2 separate regions of the Homo sapiens genome follow, and region 2 is linked to region 1. The links are contacts of gene promoters, found by promoter capture Hi-C in human tissues and cell types (Jung and others, 2019). All regions are on one chromosome and are shown on one strand. The core of a region is centred on a gene start or on the middle of the fragment in contact, and the rest is flanking DNA. Distances in the headings are between cores, read along the strand shown. Region 1 holds the start of SOX5 (SRY-box transcription factor 5). Region 2 overlaps SOX5 (SRY-box transcription factor 5).

Evidence for each region. Contacts are between HindIII fragments. The study calls those that stand out against the background at their distance.
Region 2: a fragment that was not itself captured here is called in contact with the fragment with the promoter of SOX5 in region 1 in 2 of the 25 tissues and cell types used here (heart right ventricle and stomach).

Annotation. Positions count from the first base shown.
Region 1 is chr12:23,947,814-23,951,670 of GRCh38, forward strand. SOX5 (SRY-box transcription factor 5) reads right to left here and starts at 1,857. Exons shown (of 15, transcript NM_006940.6): 1 at 1,751-1,857. The coding sequence starts at 1,788. The HindIII fragment of the contact is 5,378 bases long and covers 1-3,857 here.
Region 2 is chr12:23,760,103-23,763,925 of GRCh38, forward strand. All of the region lies in intron 3 of SOX5 (SRY-box transcription factor 5), which reads right to left. Among named protein-coding and RNA genes, the nearest start is that of SOX5, 190 kb to the right of the region's middle. The HindIII fragment of the contact is 3,281 bases long and covers 1-3,007 here.

The sequences.
Region 1 (3,857 bases), core at 607-3,106:
AAATAAAGTTCACAGCAGGAAGCTTGCCTATATAGAGAAATAGGCTACAGCCTGTTAATATGTAACTACCTTTTTATAAGTACAATCTGTTAACAGGCTTACAAATCAGCCTCAGAGTTGTATTTGCAAAAAGTATAATTAGAATTAAAGAATATTATCATTTAAGTGCTACTCTGTGCATTCTAGAAAACTTAACTGTGTTAAATTAGCAAATCGCTACATTAGGTAATGTACAGTATGTTCCACTATGAATAACTTCAACATCTACCTATGATATAAGGCTATATTTGCAAATAAAAGCTCACTAATTAAAGAGTTAATATATAGAAGTGAAAATTTTAATTCAAAACTGTTAAGAAAGCTCAAACATTCGCTGGAATTATCTAGTAAAGATGCAATTTAATTATTAAAAAAAAAAACACAGAAGAAATCAAAGAAAGATGACAGCACCGAAGTATATGTGTTGGCTATTTTACTTTCTTCCCTGATTTGATACTGGCTTTTCTAATATGTGACCACATTCAAGCGTTACTTTATCCTCAATACTCTTTTTCTCTTCCATTGCTTCACTTCTAGAATGTTTTAATCTTTGTCCTTTCTTTTTTCGTCTTTTCATATCAAATTCAGTCGTTTGAGCGATGAACAGCTTGACTTAGCATATTTTTAACCAGCTGGTCTAGCACCTAGCTTGCATTGCATAGTCAGATACAACAAATGTTTATACAGAAGGTAGCTTTCATGAAAATGAAAAAAAGCCTGGGTATCATGCATCCTGGCTTTTTTTAGCTTTTTTTTTTTTAATTCACCATACAGAATACAAAGTTTGAATTCTTTTTAATGGCAAACAAAATTCTATTTATAGTTCAAAAAAATGAACTTATGCTGGGATAAGAACTCAAATTTAAAAATTGCAATGTGTACTTATAGGAACATTAAGAGGGCTAAAATTCTTTCAAAGCCCTGCTTTACTTGCAACAACATCAAATAAAAGGATGCTGCAGATATTTCTCTAAATAGGAACAACTTAATTACAAATACACTATTCCCATCATAGCAAAAGGGGAAAATACAGTAAATTAAAATTCAGTCAAGACAGCTAACACAAAAAGTGGCCACTAAAACTTAGAAAGGGAACAGCTCCATTTATCCCCTTTTCGCCCCTATTTTTGACACTTAGGGAGTAATCTAATATAGCGATGATGTTAAATTTTCTTTGGGGGGAAAAAACGCTCTCTTATATCAACAAAAGGTCATGTGCTTTACTGAGCAGCTTCCAAAGTTTTACGGAAGGATCAAATAGGAACTTATAGCCTCCGTTTAAAGCACCACTAAAACCTTCTGTCACCCTAGAAATTACATGAGACAGAGATGCTGAAAATGGTAACATTCTGCACAAAAGCGTTTTTAAAAGGTGGGGAGAAAACAATCAATGAAGGAAGAAAGTAAGAGAGTGAATGAGAAAGACAGAAGCAGCGAGTTGGGGAGAGAGAGAGAGATGCTTAAGGTTCATTTAATTTGCTGTTATAGGACGCAACCTAAAAACATTAGCAGAAATCTCGGAGACTTTGCAAATCAGTTCAGTTTGGTCCGGGCAATCACAACAAAAAATCAGCTAACAAGATTGCAGAAGCCCTAGCTAAAGGCTTCTCTAACAAACACGTTTTGGGGGAGCATCTTCCAATGATTCAGAGACTACTGTAAAATGGGAGAGTTGTACTTCAATATATTAGGGGGAAAAAACTGTACTCACCTTTCAAACTCCTGAGGTAAATCAGGGTCAGTAAGCATGCTGGAAAAGCACAATTTCCCTTTGTCACAGCAGCCACCTATGATCGTCTCCAACTGAACCTGTCAAGTGAGTCCAAACCTTCTAAACCAATTGATTTTCTCTCTGTCTCTTCCCCCCCTCCCTCCCTCCCTCTCTCTCTCTCTCTCTCTCCCTCTCTCTCTCTGTCTCTCTCTCTCTCTCTCTCTCTCTCTTTCTCCCCCCCTCCTTCCCCTCCTCTCTCTCCTAGGACTCCTTGACCAGTCTCTTAAAGGGGTAGTGCACTTCCAGCAGCGGAGTCTGGCTGCTCCCCCCTCCGCGGAGCCACACGCTCCGGCTGCAAGGCTCTAGACAACCTCAGGGTGCCTGTCCTTTCCTTTTAATTCTCTCTTCTAGACATCACTGAATGTGAGAAGTCAACTCATTTAACACGTCTCCCATACTCTGTCTTCTAAATCATAAAACTCACACACACACATACACACGCAGAACAGTATGATTTTGTAAAACGTATTTGCTGCTGATTAAAAACCTAGTCTATATAATAACAGAAGCTCGATTAAACTGCATTTATTAACTAATTAAGCAAAAAATTTAATGTTAGTAATAGCATTTTTACACAAAGAATTGTTATTCCTTCTCACCCTTTTCTAGGCTCTCTCCGTTCACACACGGAAATACACGCACACACACACACACACACTCACACACACACAACAATCAGGCATTGTTCTGAGGGAAGAAAAGCAACTTTGACAGATTGAAATATAGCAGAGGCCCCTTCAAGGAAACCTGTAAACAACTTGTCACTCACTCTGTCGGTCTCACTGTTAGCTCGTGCTTTCCGCAAAGTGGTGCGAACGTCCTGGCAACCCGACCAAAGTTTCCTCAGCTCTAAACTCCATAAAACACGATGTGCGATGTGGAGGGGAATAGGTATCCACATGCCAAAATAACATACACGAGCGAACAAAAACCCAAAACGAAATCAAAACATAAAAACAAAAAGACGGTACTAACAAACTGTCCTGTTTGGGATCGCTGGGGAGGTCAGGAGTAGGAAGCGCCCCCCTGGCTGTGGATCTCTTTAATTTCCTCTGCCCAGGCAGCCACAGATAACAAGGTGGACAAACTATGGCTTTACAGATTCTAAGCTGGCTGGCAAGGCACAGCCTCCATAGCAGTTCCAATTATCTAGATAAAAATCTGGCAGCCGAGAAAGGTAATCAGGTAATGTACCTTTGACACGAAATGACAGAGGCACATACACACAGAGAGAGAGACACTTACACAGACATGCATGCAGAGATGGTGGCTGCCCCGTGCACCGCAGCATCTGGTCAGGGAGTAAGCACACACTTACCAACAGGAGATAGTGTGCATTCTTCACACACGCATGCACACACACACACACACACACACACACTCACTCACGCACGCTCTCCACTCCTACTGGGAGGGTTCATTCTGCACAAAAGGCTACATTACAGAGCCCGCCCCAATAAGGGAAAGAGAGGAAAAAAAAGCCTTCCATTGTTGAGAGGGCAGGTCAGTTGATTAGATTTTCTGTGGAGAATTCCACGAGGAAATTCCCTTCAAAGCCGAAGTGATTAACTGGGGGCTATTCTGGAAATGGAGCAGACAATGGCTCAATAGTCTGTACAGCCAATGTCCAGGCTGGCACTGAACTCACTTAAAAAAAAAATAAAAGCCAGACTCCCTGTTCTTTTCCACACATTCCTCCCCCCCAACCCCCTCCACTCCTTCCAACTTCCCCTCCCAATTCCTTTTATTTTGCAGCTGGACAACATTAAGGGCCTTTAAAACCACAAGGGTTGACCCCACGGCAGTTTGATTAGGTCCCACTTTTTTTTCTGGAGACAGGCAAACAGTAAGTTTACTTTTTTAGACATTCACAGTGATACATCATACACATATTCCAAAGAGAAAAAAATCAATTATGAACTTATATTAGTAAATTTATTTTTCATTCAAAGCTTATAAATTTTTAGACAAGTTGATAATAACTTAATATTTAATTCTATCATCAGGAGATGTTCTAAAAATATATATATACACACACACACACTAC
Region 2 (3,823 bases), core at 117-2,616, 190 kb before region 1:
CTTCAAAGTAAGAACTAGGGCTCCCTAGATTAAAAATAAGTGTGAGTTAATAATCATTATTTGCATAGCATTTCCATTTACAGAATGCTGCCAGATACAATTTTGTCAGTGGCATATATAATTGTTATATCCATTTTGCAGATGAGGAAACTAAGGCTCAGAAAGATGCTTTGCCCAACATCAGCTCATCAGTAAGTAGAACAGATGGAATACAAAACCAGGTTCTCTTAATTTCAGGATCTGTCTCTTTAGGGGAAAGGTAAATGCTTATATTTTAAAAAAGAACATAAAGTTAGGAAATAGGACGGATATAAGACAAATTCAAAATAAAATATACCCTTCATCATCAACACACTAATATTAAGATGAGTCTAATTGGCTCGCTATTGTTTCTTTCTGCCAACAGGACCCTTCTGATACATTTGCTTGCTTTTCCCTTCTCACTCTTGCCTCTTTTGCTCACATATGCTTCTTCACATCAATGCCTATGGCAATCCCCACCAGTGAATGGCCCCCCCCAACTGTGCCAGCCATTGTTACAACAGCATCCTGCCTCTTTAGGGCCTGCTCATTCCCTATAACTCTCACTCCTTTTTCCCTTCAGTGCCAAACACTCTTAAGACCGACTCCCTCATCTGGAACAATGAGACCTAGAGACTCATGCCAACATATTGTAATTCTCCAACAAGCTGCCAGTGCCAAGAATTAAACCACATTTGCTCCAGTGCAGTAGCTTTACACACAAGCTCAGGTATTTGCTTTGTGTTTATGTAGGTTTTTTTCCTTAATCTCCCTTCAGCTGCTGTGGCAGAGCTCATTGAAAAATCGAACAAACAAAAAGTACGCTATGTATGATATTTGACTTTTAAACAAAGTCACAGGAGTTAGGTTATACCAAACCTATCACTGTTGATACTTTAATTTTGCAGCTTAAACTAAGCTGTTTTATTCTTGACATGTGATAGTGTACACATTGAGGAATGGAAGTTGTCTTCTGGAGGTAACTAGATTTCAAAATATACCAATATCTCCTTCAAAGTAAGAAAGTAAAAGCACATGTAGACTATTCATGCCATAAAATAAGAATTATAGAGCTGAAAAGGTCTTTATATATCATTTAGATAAGCACTTCATAAAAGCAATTGAGGAAAACATATATCTGACATAAATGGAACATAAATGGTTTGGCTACTTAAAACTAAAACAACACACGCATTCGATTGTCATGCAAATCTAATTAACACTAAACAAATTTATATTTCCTCTCTACAAGATTTAGATCATTTTAGGTACTAACAGGTTGGTAATTTTTAAACTAGTTACAGATTATGTAGTATTTTTAAAATATTTGACCAAGGAAATTAGTGTTGGGAGATGACCGTGTGTATGGCTCAATACGATTTGGGTAATAACTGGTTTAGACCAAACTTTTCATTTTACAGACTAAAAAAGTACCAATTAGAGATGCTAAATAACTTGCCTAATATCACAAACCTATATAAAGGCAGAACTTGCAGTCCAATTTCCAGTTCAGTGTTCTTAACAGTATATCACATACTACCACAAAGTTTTTTAAATAGACGGCCAAACTCTTGAAAAATGAAATTGTAGTTCTATTTTATTCACTTTGTCTAGCTTAAATTAGTAATTATTTGATAGGTGGTACTGTGGGCTAGTCTGTTTTAGAACTAAGTATTATTAACTCGATAATCTGTTTAAATTAGGTACTGTTAACTTGATGTTCTACTCTTGGAAGCTTTCATCTGGTAGCACCATGAAACTGAAGAATAAATACAAGTTAGTGCATTTATTTAACCGAATTTATTTTTCTTCAAAAGGCTAATTACACTTTAATATGTTGCTATTTATTAAGTTATGTATAATAAAATTATTTTTGAGGGGAAGATTGAGCTAAATCTGGAAATCATATATCAGTAAGAGTTCAATTCATGTTGACAATAGCTGCATATCTACACAATATTAGGGAGCAAATATTAAACAGCACAGTTTAAGTAATATTGACCTTTACATATCTGGAAAGCTATTTGTACACTAAAAACCAGAAGGCCCCTTAACAGTCCCCTTAGTCAAGTATTACAGCTAGTCGGCCACTGGACATACCAAGTTCTTCTAGGAAATATCAAAAAATAACCTGGGCACAGTGGTGGGCCTATAGTCCCAGCTACTCAGGAGGCTGAGGCGAGAATACTGCTTCAGGCCAAGAGCTTGAGGCTGTAGCGTACTTTGTTTGCACCTGTGAATAGCCACCACACTCCTGCCTGGGCAATGTAGCAAGATTCCCCCCTCTAAAAAATTCGTAATATAACACATACCACAACAAACAATAGAAACACACAAGAAACTCCATAGCATTAAGATTTAGATAAGCTTTATTTTTATATGTGATTGTCCTGAAGTGAATTAAACACTGGAAATACTTTACGTTTAGTATTGCCAAAATACTTGTTTGTTTCCACTTGAAAGTTAATGAGAGCCTGTTAATACAAAAAGAAAAAAAAAAAAGTCTTTGGCTGACTCAAGTTTTACAATTTTTAATGTGAAGTTTTTAGAAAAATGTAATGTAATACTTAAATCATTAGTCATAGGCTTAAATTTTCTTGTTGCATCAGCTGAACCTGCTCAATTATAATTGGTTTTATATCACATTTTAGAAGAATATCTTTTATCACATGATTATGCCATAATCAATATGGTATCATTACTACATATCAATAACCTTAGGTTTACTCCTCACAAGACATATTTTCTATACAAAAATCTCCACTAAAAGATAGGCATTATTCATATGTGATAGAAAATCATTCTTTCATCCACTCTATCACTCACAAAGTAACTGCATTTTCTTATATAGACTACAACTCTTTGTTTTGTTCTTATTTCAAATATTAAATCCCAGCATTTCAACAAGAAATTGAAGAGCTAGTCCTCATGCACAAAATCTCCTTTATATTTTACTACCAAATATTTACAATGATAATATAATGTCACATATAACCTGACTCCATCACTTATTAAGTTTTGTGCCCTTTGGCAAGTAATGTAACCTCTCTATGCTTCCATTCACTTACCTGCAAAAGAGGCTAATAACTGCACTTACTTCATATGCTTGTTGTGAGAAGTAAATGAGATAATTTATGTAACGCCATTAAAACAGTGCCAGGCACATAGTGACACCCAAAAATGTTGACTAACATTACAACTACAACTTACTATAAAACAACCTAGGAAAATAATTTCAAAAAATCAAGTAAAATATGCTTCACCTTGCCTGTCATGAAAACTACCCCAAAATCAAAAGTTTCATCAAAGAGTAATAGGGCTACTTGTACCCATTTTTATGAAATAACCACCTACTATTAATGTATTTGGTTATCTACCATTCCTATGACTTCTTCAGTTTGATCTTATCAATAAAGATGATAAAGGAATGTAGTAAGTATGAAGGACTGGGGAGGTGCCACTTCTATTAAGTTAATGTATAAAACGCCCGTAAACAGCACAAATACAAAATTGCTCAATTAATCTTTGCCTTTTTTTTTTCTTTGTTTGACAGTTGTCTTTCTAACTTCCCAAAGGTTCTATTAGGTCCTCAACAATATCTAAAGCTTTTAAGCCAGTGCTGTTGACAAGTGAAAGAGAACAACAAATAGCTTTGTAGTGCTCTTTTCCCAGGGTCATTCAACCAATGGTAATAGTTATTATTTTTATATATTAGCACTGAGCCCTGTCCTTTATCATGGCTAACTCATCCAACCCTCCTGACAGCAAAAACATTTTAACTTTTAATAAAAATGGGAGAGTG